Linked DNA regions of Homo sapiens: regions 2 and 3 are each linked to region 1. Evidence: promoter capture Hi-C in 16 types of primary human blood cells and fetal thymus (Javierre and others, 2016). All regions are on one chromosome and are shown on one strand. The core of a region is centred on a gene start or on the middle of the fragment in contact, and the rest is flanking DNA. Distances in the headings are between cores, read along the strand shown. Region 1 holds the start of WDR35 (WD repeat domain 35). Region 2 overlaps LOC105373454 (a long non-coding RNA gene). Region 3 has its middle 13 kb from the start of RDH14.

The links. The method cuts DNA at HindIII sites, captures the fragments that hold promoters and counts their contacts. A CHiCAGO score of 5 or more calls a contact.
Region 2: a contact is called between a fragment that was not itself captured here and the fragment with the promoter of WDR35 in region 1, in 1 of 17 cell types (total CD4 T cells). The highest score is 6.0, in total CD4 T cells.
Region 3: a fragment that was not itself captured here is called in contact with the fragment with the promoter of WDR35 in region 1 in 1 of 17 cell types (naive CD8 T cells); the score reaches 5.4 in naive CD8 T cells.

Annotation. Positions count from the first base shown.
Region 1 is chr2:19,987,831-19,992,097 of GRCh38, reverse strand. WDR35 (WD repeat domain 35) reads left to right here and starts at 1,993. Exons shown (of 27, transcript NM_020779.4): 1 at 1,993-2,106; 2 at 2,816-2,933. The coding sequence starts at 2,083. WDR35-DT (WDR35 divergent transcript) reads right to left here and starts at 1,894. Exons shown (of 3, transcript NR_110235.1): 1 at 1,604-1,894. MATN3 (matrilin 3) reads left to right here. Exons shown (of 8, transcript NM_002381.5): 8 at 1-46. RefSeq lists a silencer at 1,773-1,852 and enhancers at 2,013-2,062, 1,693-2,196, 2,213-2,262. The HindIII fragment of the contact is 12,234 bases long and covers 1-4,267 here.
Region 2 is chr2:18,510,414-18,514,680 of GRCh38, reverse strand. It overlaps LOC105373454 (a long non-coding RNA gene), which reads right to left. Exons shown (of 8, transcript XR_001739302.1): 7 at 83-166. Among named protein-coding and RNA genes, the nearest start is that of RDH14, 48 kb to the left of the region's middle. The HindIII fragment of the contact is 1,229 bases long and covers 1,934-3,162 here.
Region 3 is chr2:18,546,004-18,550,270 of GRCh38, reverse strand. No RefSeq gene overlaps it. Among named protein-coding and RNA genes, the nearest start is that of RDH14, 13 kb to the left of the region's middle. RefSeq lists an enhancer at 3,127-3,647. The HindIII fragment of the contact is 2,023 bases long and covers 1,545-3,567 here.

The DNA.
Region 1 (4,267 bases), core at 744-3,243:
TTGATGACTCATCAATTTTGTCTATTAAAGATATTTCTTTAAATTATACTGAATTAACAGTTATTTTGATATTCAACAGTTTCTTATCAAAAGACAGAAGTTTGATTCTCCTCCTATAGTTTAATCTCACACTCCTGAGGCTAAAAGTGTAAGTTCAGGTTCAAAAGAAAGGCTTCAATATAAAATTATCTAAATTTGGATAAAATAATGATGAGCTTTACATTAATATAAGCTCCTGAGAAGCAAATATATCCTACAGATGTAAATATAAAATATAAACTTTAAGGAAGGAACAAAAACTAAATATACCAAGGAAATATATAAAGCATCTCTTACTTTTCAAAAATTTTGAAAGGGTATGACATAGAGCTACAGTAGTATTTTCCAGACTTTTTTGAGCCCAAAATCAGTAATACATATTAATATACCACAGAGAAATGGTGGTATAGAAGGAATAAATGAGAGTTCATGTGCAAGAAGGGAAAGATAAAGAGAGGTGAGTTTTCAGGTGTCACCATCAGTAACTAGCTTCAACTAATTATGTCTTGACCAGTTTATTGGAAACTCCTGGGTTAGATAATACTAATTTGTCTCATGCGTCCAGTATAGGGAGCCTATGGACAGGGGCCAATGTATCTTAAACAGACACACAAACAATGGAAAGCAAACATTATCTGAATGGGATTGGGTTAAGTTTGGAAAGAATTCCTCATGGAGACTGATTTGTGCTGGTTTGGCTAGGCACAACTGGCCTGTTAAGAGGGTAGGACCATATATAAAGTGGCTTGGGAAGCAGAGCCGGATGGAATGTTGCCCTGCAGAAAGCATATTGGCTTACTTGAGGTGGGGGCTCCCTAGTAAAAACATTTAGGATTGAGGGAAGATCTGATTTTGGATGGAGTTTAGATTTGCTAGGAAAGGCACTAGGGACTATTGTCAATTCTATAATAGATTGTGCTGGGTGAGACAAATCACCCAGGTCAAAGGATTGGAGGATTTTTATTTTATTTTTGTCTGAGATGGGAAAAGACTCCAAGTGGGGAAATTAACTACTGATGCATAAATTACATGCTAGATTATGGTAAAAGGGAAAACCAGAAATAAAAACATAGGTGAGACCAAATAATTTCATGAGTGGTTCTACTTGGATTTCTGCCCTATGCCTTAGACTTTGAGGCTTTGTAACTCTCAAGCATTCCAAAAGGACAAAGGAGAATGAAGAAAGAAGGTAAGAAAAAGAAGAGAATATGTAACAGTCGACTCTAGACGAGAAAACACCAAACGCTCAAATATTTGTAAAATGGGAGGCCATGCCCCAATAGCAATTGTACGCTGTAATTACCCAACGTTTACAGAAATTCCTTTAAAAGGACCCTCGGGGTTGCGGTAATAATTAAACTGTTAAAAAATATCAAAACAAGCGGAATAAACAAAATCTTCTATTCCTAAATTGCTCTAGAGGTTCTCCAATCCCCAAAGACACAGAGAAGGGTTGTAAGATCTCAGTACGCACATTTGCACTTTCATCTGGCCAGTGGCGCCAGCCTATCAAATACAGTAAATGGCTTTTCCCTTTCAAGAATGTTGGAACTTTGGAACTTACAAAATACTAAATAATTTGCCCTTATTCGAACGGGCGCCTCTCCTCTTAGGTTTATAGTAATGCCACCTGAGGCGCGGCTCCATAGCGATCATCACAGGTGTGGCGGGAGGGAGGGCGGCAGTGACCACGAGACGGGGCGCAGAGGGCGAGCGCACGGCTGGCAGTGACAGGTCGCGACCCAGCTCCTTGCGGAGAGCAGAAAGGCCCAGACGCCAGGGAACAGGACTAGCCCAGCTACCGCCTCGCGCCTCGCGCCCTGCGCCCACAAACCCATCGACGTCCGCGCAGGCGCACTACGCCGGTGCCCGGTGCGAGGGCGTCACCGGAAGTGTCCCGCGGCGCCCCGGATGCGACCGGGCAACAGCGGTTGCCAGGGCGACGGGAGCTTTCCGGAGCTGCTGGTACTCCCGATTGGAGACGTAGAACCGTTACTTGTCGAGGGCCTTAGCGGCCGCCGTGACCCTCTCGGGGATCCCACGATGTTCTTCTACCTGAGCAAGAAAGTGAGTTTCCTGGGGGGCGTCCTCGTTTCTCCGCCATTCCCGCAGCCTGCGGCGATTCCCGCTGCCTTCCCGAGAAGCCAGGCTCCTTCACCCGGTCCTGGTCGTGGCTTCGCCATTCCGCAGCCATCCTTCCCGCCGGGTCCAGCCTCCGACCTCTTCCTGCGGTTCCCAGAGCCTCAGTCTTTGGCCGAGCTTGCTGCCCTCTCGCAGCACTCTCCCATTCCTGCCCCTGGCTAGGTCCTTTTGGGTGGCTTGAGGATAAGTCGCCACGTGCTACCCTATGTTTCCTCCTCCACTTGTTGCTGATCCACGTGATTTAAACTCTTTGGATCACCACGAGCCATTGGGCAAGAGAAAAGAAATAACAATAGGATAGCCTAAGTTGTAGGTAAAAAGGAAGAGGGACTGGTGGTATGGATTTATACCCTCTCCCCGTCCTCCCTTTAAAAAATCCATCCGGTGAGACTCTGGCGTTGGCTTCCTCCGCAGTCACTATCCTTCTCTTTTGTGCACTTCTTTCCCTCTTTCCCAAATGCTAGAGCCCGGGTCAGTTCAGGGGACCATGCCCATTTTCACAACAGCTCATTTTTTTTCTGCAAGGCCGTTCGTTTTTCTTCTTGGAAGATTTTCTTCAGCTTTCATCTCCTGCAGACTTACTTCCCAGCTCCTTCGTGAAAAGTTGCTAGTGCGGCTGTGGTTGCTTTTTCAGATTTCCATTCCCAATAACGTGAAGCTGCAGTGTGTATCCTGGAACAAGGAACAAGGGTTCATAGCATGCGGTGGTGAAGATGGATTACTGAAAGTTTTGAAATTAGAGACGCAGACAGGTAAATGAATGCAAGCCCACATGTTTGGTAGTAAATTGGCTAATGTTATTTGTTCAGTGCGGTCTACTCATGTTATCTGTCAATATGCAGTTCTGATTATTTTAAAGGGAAAACTACCAAAACATTTTATGGTGTTTTTCTGGAGTATATTTGCAATAAAGTTCAGAGAATGTTGAATGTAAACATCGGATGGTTTTTGCTGAGTTATTAATGGAAAATGAAAAATAATGAAGAATGAAAATAAGTCACTGTGTTATGCTATGTCTAATTATTGTACTATATTATTAGGAGTCTAAAAGAAATCCTGTGAGTCAACATTTCACTAAGAAAATCTGGCAGATTGTTTACAGGTCTGTGTCATCCTTTCTGCTTATCAGATGCATTAATGGTTATTCACCTAGTGTCCAAGAACAGAAAATGGGATACGTTTTACATTTCTATTAGTAGGTCTCTTGTCTTTGCTGCTTGATTTCTTTCTTTATCTAGTTCTCTGGAATCACAGCAAACAGCTTCCCACTTCTTAGCCCCCCTAGATTGAAGACCTAGATAAGGTAATTGGAGTTAAATCTCAGCTCTTCCACAAGACTACTGAATGACTTTCAACAAGTTAGCTGAGGATCTTACTACTTTAGTTTAGTCTTCCATAAAATGAAAATGTAGGGGGTTAAACTGCATTACATTTTTGGATTCCTTACAACATAGCTTCTCAAACTGTATTAGGTATAAGAATCACTGGAAGAGGTTGTTAAGATGGATTTCATGCTCTACCCCCACACAATAGACCCGGGATGGGGCCTGAGAATTTCCATTTCTAGTGAAGCTGAGTTGCTGGTCCTCAGACCGCACTTTGAATAGCATTACCTTACAACTTTGAATGCGGTATGAATAATAAATACTTATTGACGATTTTCCATGTAGTGGATGTTTAACCTTCACAATCTTATTTGACTTCACAATAATCTTGGGCAGTAGGTATTCTAGGTGAGAAAATTGAGGCTCTGAGCTGTTAACTGCCCTAGGTCACGCAGCCAGTAAGTGGCGGAACAAGGATGTGAAACTAAGTTTGTCTCACATTCAAGTCCTTGTTTTTAACCACTACACAAAGGGCTAGTGGACAGCCTAAGTAAAGAAGAGTACCAATTAAAGTTTGGCTTATGCTGTTTTATAGTTCAATCTGTCAGTGCTTTAGTTTTTTAAAACTGTGTTAAAAGAAAGTTTTTCTCTGTTTCTTAAATGTGTATATAGATATATATATACGTGTGTATATATATATATGTGTGTCTGTATATACATACTTTTGCTTACAATATTTGGCAAGTTTTTTTTTTTTTTTT
Region 2 (4,267 bases), core at 1,299-3,798, 1.5 Mb after region 1:
CCACACCCAGTTACTTCCAGTCTGTTCTCTCTCACCAAGGTTCCCTGTCCCTCCAAGAACTAATGCACAGAAACTCTCTCACTGGTGGACACTCCATGGTTAATATTCTTCTCTTTTCTTCTGTGATCAAAAGAAATTCTGTTTCCTCATAGATGCTGGAAGTTCCCTATGGAGAAAAAAAATATTATTATTTCTCATCTTTTTGCACTCATGGGCTAAGAGCTTCTCAAACCCCAAGGGCTCTGCTCACAATCACCAAACGAAGGAAAAAGCAGCTGGAAATGCAGCCCGGAGATGTGTTCCCAGGAGTTGAGACTCTGGCTCCCGTAGATTGCACCTCACACACGCACACCCTGTCTGTCTGTGTGCATTTAGAGCACGTTCTCAAGATCGAGTCTGATTCTCACAACGACCCCAAGTAACCACAATGACAAGTGTGATGAGTTTCCCACAGTTCACAGAACAAGATGGGAAGAATGGTCCAGAATCATCCCACAGGTTAGTGGTGGGGCTGGGACAAAGAATCCTTTTGTCTGGTTTCCTCCATTATTCTTTGCCTTCTGCAATACAATATTTTACATATTAAGAATCCCAAATAAATCAAGTAATGCTATTTAACTTCAAGCTAAGGCTAAGGTAAAATAATTTCCTAATTAATTCTTTAGAAAATTGTACTAATAGCGTAAATGATTAGAGAGGATGAGAATGACCAGTGGTGGTGGTGGTGGTGGTGGTGGTGGTGGAGGAGTAGGAAAAGGTGGGGCAGGAAAAGCAGGTGATTTAGACACTGGAATCTTATCACTTGGAACTTTTTGGATTGCAATTGCATAGCTACGTTCACAGAAATTGGAGTAATAGCAATACTATGGGGACACAGGTTTTGGTACCTAGCAAGAACCAGATCCTGGGATTTGATCTAGCTCGTCGCATTTAATTTTTATAGCCTCACATCTGTGTGTGAAGGAGGCATTTATTATTATTCCCATATAACAAATAATTGTCATTTAGTTGTGGAATCCATTTTAACAGGCCAGAATGTATCAAGAGCCCTCTGAATATCTGAAATAGAACAACAATCAGACACAGAAAGACAAATACCACATGACCTCACTTATATGTGAAATCTAAAAAAAAAAAAAATCAAATTCACAGACGTAGAGAGTAGAAAGGTGGTTAGCAGAATCTGGGGAGGGGTGGGTTGGGAAAACAGAGATATTGGTCAGAGGGTACAAGTTTCAGTTAGACAGGAAGAATAAGTTTACAGATCTATTGTACAGCATGGTGACTATAGTTAACAAAATGCATTATTGGTCAACTGATGGTCACAGTCAATTAATAGTGCATCATGTGTATATATCAGGAGAAAAATAGATGCAGGGCACATAGTTAATATAATCTAATATCATAAACATATTTGTGTATATATATGTGTGTATTTATATACACATATGTGTGTATATGTATTTATATAACCCACATACATATTCAAACATGTGTCTATAAAATACCAAAACAACACTAGTAAAATAATGATTGGGTGTTTAATAATTTTCTCATTCATTTAATTTTATAAATTCACAAATAAATTTGTAGTTTTTATTATCATAAAAATTATAAAGCATGTAATCCCATCACTTTGGGAGGCCAAGGTGGGCCAATCACGAGGTCAAAAGATGGAGACCATCCTGGCCAACATGGTGAAACCCTGTCTCTACTAAAAATACAAAAATTAGCTGGGCGTGGTGGTGTGCGCCTGTAGTCCCAGCTGCTCGGGAGGCTGAGGCAGGAGAATCGCTTGAACCCAGGAGGCGGAGGTTGTAGTGAGCTGAGATCACACCACTGCACTCCAGCCTGGCAACAGAGTGAGGCTCTCTCTAAAAATAATAATAATAATAAATAGTAAAACTTATCTCACAAATGAATGACATAAGCTTCTTTCTGATACTGATTGTTAGAAATCCTGAAATCTATGTAAAACAGCCATCCTTTCCTCCAAGACCCCACGTGTCACTGGAGCCACAATATTGAGCTTACTCTAACATAGCTAAGATGTCAAGAAAGAAGACAATTTCAGCTTAAGTAGTGTGGCTGGTTAGGTTTTTTGAGTAAGTTCTCCTTCTGAAAATATCTGAAATGCTATCCAAAATATATTTTTATATAATAAACACAGAAGAGCTTATAATATAGTAAGAAATTATCTGGTCAAAATCTATGTAAAGGCAGGAAACCAGAGATGTAAGGGGACACTCATGGCCACATTTTCCTGAGAGTATTGGGCAAATCAGATTAAAATACAGAGTGTGGAAGCCACACACCAAAGGCCACGCTTTCCCAGGAGGAGAATCCGCTAAACAACATATGCCTGTAAAGCTGGGATCCAACCAAAAATAAATCTGTTTTGCCTAATACACCACAATAAACCTGTGTCTCTCCTTTCCTGCAGGGGCCACATAGAAATCTGCCTTGGTACTGAGAAAATAGTCTCTGAGAAGTTGTCACCACAAATTATCCCTAACACATACTGAGAGTCCAAATTCACAATAATTGTTAAAAATAATCTTCAGACCAGGCACGGTGGCTCATGCCTGTAATCCCAGCACTTTGGGAGGCCGAGGCGGGTGGATCAGGAGGTCAGGAGTTCGAGACCAGCCTGGCCAACATGGTGAAACTCCATCTCTACTAAAAATACAAAAAAATAGGAAGGCATGGTGGCAGGTGTCTGTAATCCCAGCTACTTGGGAGGCGGAGGCAGGAGAATTGCTTGAACCCGAGAGGCAGAGGTTGCAGTGAGCTGAGATCATTCCACTGCACTCTAGCATGGGCGACAGAGCAAGACTCCGTCTTGGGGAAACAAAAATAAAAAAATAAAAAATAAATCTTCAAACTGCGCAGATTCAAATTGCAGAGGCAAATATCAGTACTCTCTGGAGGAATGCACTATCATTCTATCCTTGAAGAAGGCCCAGAAATAATTTTCCAAATAAACGCAGCAGCTCACAGTCCAAAAAGAACAAGGAGACAATAAACCATAAGTAAGAAGCAGCAAACAAACAAACAAAGGCAACAGGCAAAGTTTTGCAAAGACCTAAGATACTAGAATTGTCAGACACAGTTTAATAAATAATTAACTATATTGTGTTTAAATACATTAAAAGGAAAGCTTTAAAAATCTGTGGAGTGGAAATCCACAAAAAATGACAGCAGATTTGACAAAAATTAGAAATTTTTCAAATAAAGAGACGATTAAAATTAAAAACTCAATGATCAGTTTTAACCATAGATTAGAGACAGCTAAAAAATAATTGGTAAATTGTAAAACAGATTCAGAATAAATCATCCAGATTATAACATAAACAAAGAGACCTATAATGTGATAGAGAAGTTATGAGACATAAAACATTAAGTGAAATGGTCTTAGCATATTTTCAGACTCCCAGAAGGAGGGCATAGATAACATGTTTAAAAAGAAATATCTGAAGATATAACAGTTTAGAAATTTCCAGAAATGGCAAAAGACATTAATTTAGAGACCCAAGGAATTCAATGAATCAGAAACAGAAAAAAATTAAAGAAAAGCCAAGTTAAACACATTATAGGAAAACTGGTGAACACCCCAGAGATAAAAAGCTGAAGCTTGGTGGTGTTGGTGGTGGTAATGGCAGGGCACTGAAGGGAAGCGTTGTCTTTAAGGCAATGATAGACGAACAGCTGACTTTTGAACTGCAGCAATTGAATCCAAAGAAATGGAATGATATCTTTATTTTGTGTGTTTGTGTGTGATGGGTGCTGTGAGGGGTACTGCTGTCCTCAAATTCTCTATCCAGAAAACACATCTCTCAGGAATGGGGGCAAAACTAAAACATTTTCAGGTAAATTAAACTATATATTTCTTAGCAGCTGACTCTCACTAAAAGAAATTCTGAAAAAAAAAATTTCAGGCAGAAGAAAACTGATGCCAGATTGAAGGTCTGAGCCATAGGATGGAATAAAAACAGAGAAAGTGGGAATATGTGAATATCTAACAACATCTGACTCTATTCAGATTGCTGTCACAAATTACCATAAAGTAGGTGGCTTGTAAACAATAGAAATTCATTTCTCACAGTTCTAGAGGGTGGGAAGTGCAAAATCAAGGCAGCACCAAATTTGGTGTCTGGGGAGGGCTCACTCTGTATTTCATACTTGGTGCTTTCCTGCTGTATCCTTACATAGCAGAAGGGGCTAGCTAGCTCTCTGGGGTATCTTTTTGTAAGGGCAGTAATCCCAT
Region 3 (4,267 bases), core at 1,307-3,806, 1.4 Mb after region 1:
AAGGTTTGAACCCTCAAAGTCATCCATGAGGGTTGGACTCAGATTTTTTCAAATTTCTGTTAATGTTGATATTTTGACCTTCTCCTTTGAATTATGAATGTTCTTAATGGCATCTAGAATGGTTAATACTTTCGCAGAAGATTGTCAATTTATTTTGCCCAGATCCATCGGAGGAATAACTGTGGCAGCTTTAGCCCTAGGAAATGTTATTTCTTAAATAATAAGACTTTAAAGTCAAAATTACTCCTTAATCCATGGGCTGCAGACTAGATGTATCAGCAGACATGAAAACATTAATCGTTTTATACATCTCCATCAGAGTTCTTGGGTGACTATGTGCATTGTCAATGAGCAGTAATATTTTGAAAGGCATCTTTTCTAAGCAATAGGTCTTAACAGTGGACTTAAAATTTCAGTAAACCATGCTGTAAACAGATGTGCTGTCATCCAGACCTTGTTGTTCCCCTTATAGCACATAGGCAGAGTAGATTAAACATAATTCTTACAGGCCCTAGAATTTTTAGTATGGTAAATGTGCATTGACTTCAACTTAAAGTCACCAGCTGCATTAGCCCCAAACAAGAGAGTCAGACTGTCCTTTGAAGCTTTGTTTCCATGCATTGACTTCTCTCTAGCTATAAAAGCCTCAGATCGCATCTTCTTCCAATGGAAAGCTATTTTGTCTGCATTAAAAATCCGTTGCTTAGTGTATTAGTCCATTTTCATGCTGCTGATAAAGACGTACCCAAGGCTGGGCAATTTATAAAGAAAAAGAAGTTTAATGGACTCACAGTTCCACGTGGCTGGGGAGGCCTAACAATCATAGCAGAAGGTGAAAGGCATATCTTACATGGCTGCAGGGAAGAGAGAAAATGAGAGACAAGCAAAAGAGGTTTCCCCTTATAAACCCACCAGATCTCTTGAGACTTATTCACTACCATGAGAACAGCACAGGAAAGACCCATCCACATGATTCAATTACCTCCCACGGGTCCCTCCCACAACACATGGGAATTGTGGAAGCTACAATTCAAGATGAGATTTGAGTGGGGCACAGTCAAACCATATCACTTAGTGTGGCCACCTTCATCAATGTTCTTAGCTAGCTCTTCTGGATAACTTGCTGTAGCTTCTGCATTAGCACTTGCTGCTTCACCTTGCACTTTAATGTTGCAGAGATGGCTTCTTTCCCTAAACCTCATGAACCAACCTCTGCTAGCTTCAAACTTTTCTTCTGCAGCTTTCTCACCTCTCTCAACCCAGATAGAGTTGAGTTAGGGCCTTGCTCTGAATTAGGTTTTGGCTTTAGGGAATGTTGTGGCTGGTTTGATCTTAGAAGATCACTTTAGACAGCCCACTAAAACTTTCTCCATATCAGCAATATGAGGCTGTTTCACTTGCTTATCATTCATGTGTTTCCTGGAATTGCATGTTTAATTTCTTTCAAGAACTTTTCTTTGTGTTCATAACTTGGCCAACTGTTTGGCAGGAGAGGCCTCGCTTTTGGCCTTTCTTGGCTTTCAACATGCCTTCCTCACTAAGCTTAATAGTTCCTAGTTTTTGATTTAAATTGAGAGATGTGAGACTCTTTCTTTCACTTGAATGCTTAGTAGCCATTGTAGGATTATTAATTGACTTAATTTCAATATTGTTGTGTCTCAGGCAATGGGGAGGCCCAAGGAGAGGGAAAGAGATGTGGGAATGACCGGAGCAGTCAGAACACACACAACATTTATCAATTACATTTGCCATCTTATATGGGTGGGGCTTCTAGTGCCCCAGAACAATTACTAGGATAACATCAAAGATTACTGATTACAAATCACTATTACAGATAAAATAATAAAGTTTGAAATACATTTTTTTTTTGAGACGGAGTCTTGCTCTGTCGCCCAGGCTGGAGTGCAGTGGCACTATCTCAGCTCACTGCAAGCTCTGCCTCCTGGGCTCACGCCATTCTCCTGCCTCAGCCTCACGAGTAGCTGGAACTACAGGCGCCCACCACGACGCCTGGCTAATTTTTTATATTTTTAGTAGAGACGGGGTTTCACCGTGTTAGCCAGGATGGTCTTGATCTCCTGACCTCATGATCCACCCACCTCAGCCTCCCAAAGTGCTGGGATTACAGGCGTGAGCCACTGCACCCAGCCATAAAGTTTGAAATATTGCTAAGCATTACCAAAATATGACAGAGACATGAAGTGTGCACAAACCATTGAAAAAATGTCACCAATGGATTTGCTCCATGCAGGGATGCTAGAAACCTTCAGTTTGTTAAAAAAAAAAAAAAAATGCAGTACCTGCAAAGCACAGTCAAGTGAAGCATGATAAAACAAGGTATTCTTGAACAATGTAAGAAAATGAAATTCCAAGTGAGTCCATGCTCAAAAAGGAAAACAACGAAGATACCAGTTGAACCCGTAGCCTTATATTAGAAGATAGACAAAGAAATGAACATGTTATATGTTTTAAGTTCAAACATTTTGTGGTACATATAATTCATCTTTTTTATTTTCTGCTTTAATCAACTTTTTAAATGTAACCAACCAATTCAAAATAAGAATGCTTCTATTGTACAGCAGAGGTATCACTTCATATCAGAAGAGTTTTCGTTTGGAGGGATAGAAATAAATGTGTTCTGTGTCGTGAAGCATGTTTTTCCAAGGAGTTCTAATCTAAATTTGGGAATAGTTTTATTTTTTAAAATGCACCAGTATATTGAATTGATAACTTGATATATTTGGTCCTAAAGTGTTTTTGTAGCCAGTTCTTAAAATTTAGTTTCATCATCAGATTTGTTTCTCTCTCTCTCATTTTAAAATCTCCTATTAATTGTGATAAATATGTTTCTGAATGTTTATAATAAAGTTATTTTTCGTATGTCATTTTATATTTGGAAGTTGCCATGTTACATATGAACTATTCCAGGCTGGTTTGTCCTAAGTTGGGGGTTTTAGAGTCTATTAAAAACAAAAAAGTTTCTACCTTCCTTTATAATGTTGAACTTAAGCACTTGTACCTTCCTCTTTTTTCTTTTTGGTATAACCCACAGATGTAGATAGTTCTCCAGCTTTTGACAGAATGAAATTGGTTCTAAATCTTCCTAATAGCCCCCATTTTTGCTACTATGAGAGTAGTAAGGTGAATAAATAGTAGAATTTTAAGTTGTAAACAGATTCAAAACATTTTATCTGTGCAGGCATACATATATGTTGGCATTTTAGTTACATCTTGAAGTTATCCACATGGTTTGAGGAAATGTTGAGCACAGAAAAATATATAATTATTATTAGTTTGTGAAAAAAGCAGAGCGAGTTTCTGCCACCAACCCATGAAAGCACAGGAAATGGCTTTGTGTAGTAGGTGTTTGAGTCTAGGCATTCTGTTGACAGAAGTGGGTTCTACCCAGGGGTTTTGTGTTAATGTAATCAAACACTTCAGAGCTGCAGCCTAACAAGATCAAGTCCACCCACCTCAGAGTTTATCTTTAGCTCATCTGGAAGAGTTTATTTTAAACATTGAACATTGTTTGCTGCTGTTGAAATGAAAGTGAGAGAGTTACAAGCTTTCTTCCACTGCCATCTGGCAGGTTTACTGATGGATCGGGTTCTTTAATCCATGTAACCCTGTGTGTGGGAGCTATTGTCTTTGTGTTGATCATGCAGCTGGCTTGGCTGAACTTTAAAAAGCTTACATAAAGCTATCAAAAGCCATCCTATAGATAAATGAAGTTGAGGATGTTGCAAAAGTCACTGAGGCCTTTTTGGAGAAGGCTTGGATATATATTTTTCATTCTTCACTGAACACATATTTTGCATGTTCTCTTTATGAACTGGAAAAGAGGAAGATAACTGTATTTGGATATTTTGAAAGAAATAACTGAAGCTACCAAAAAAAATGATTATTCTTAATTAAGAAAAGTATTGTAGCATAGTAGAAAGGAAAGAAACAGCAGATTAGGGCGTCCATATTTCATTAAAGTAAATGTGGGATGTAAAAAGTCACATGTGTGTGCTCTTTTCTCGGTGGAGGTTTGTCTGGCTTTTTCTTCAGCCTACATATGGCATAGGGATGTTCAATGATACACTTATTACATACTTAATAATTAGCTATAGCATCCTTAGGTATAGTACTACACAGAATCTCATGTAGTATGCTACTAAGTATAATAATTTACAACCAACTCCAGGGCACAGTTTCAACCGTATTCTCAAATGCATACATACATCTGCATTAAGAGACTGCATGCAAAGAGTAGACTATGTGT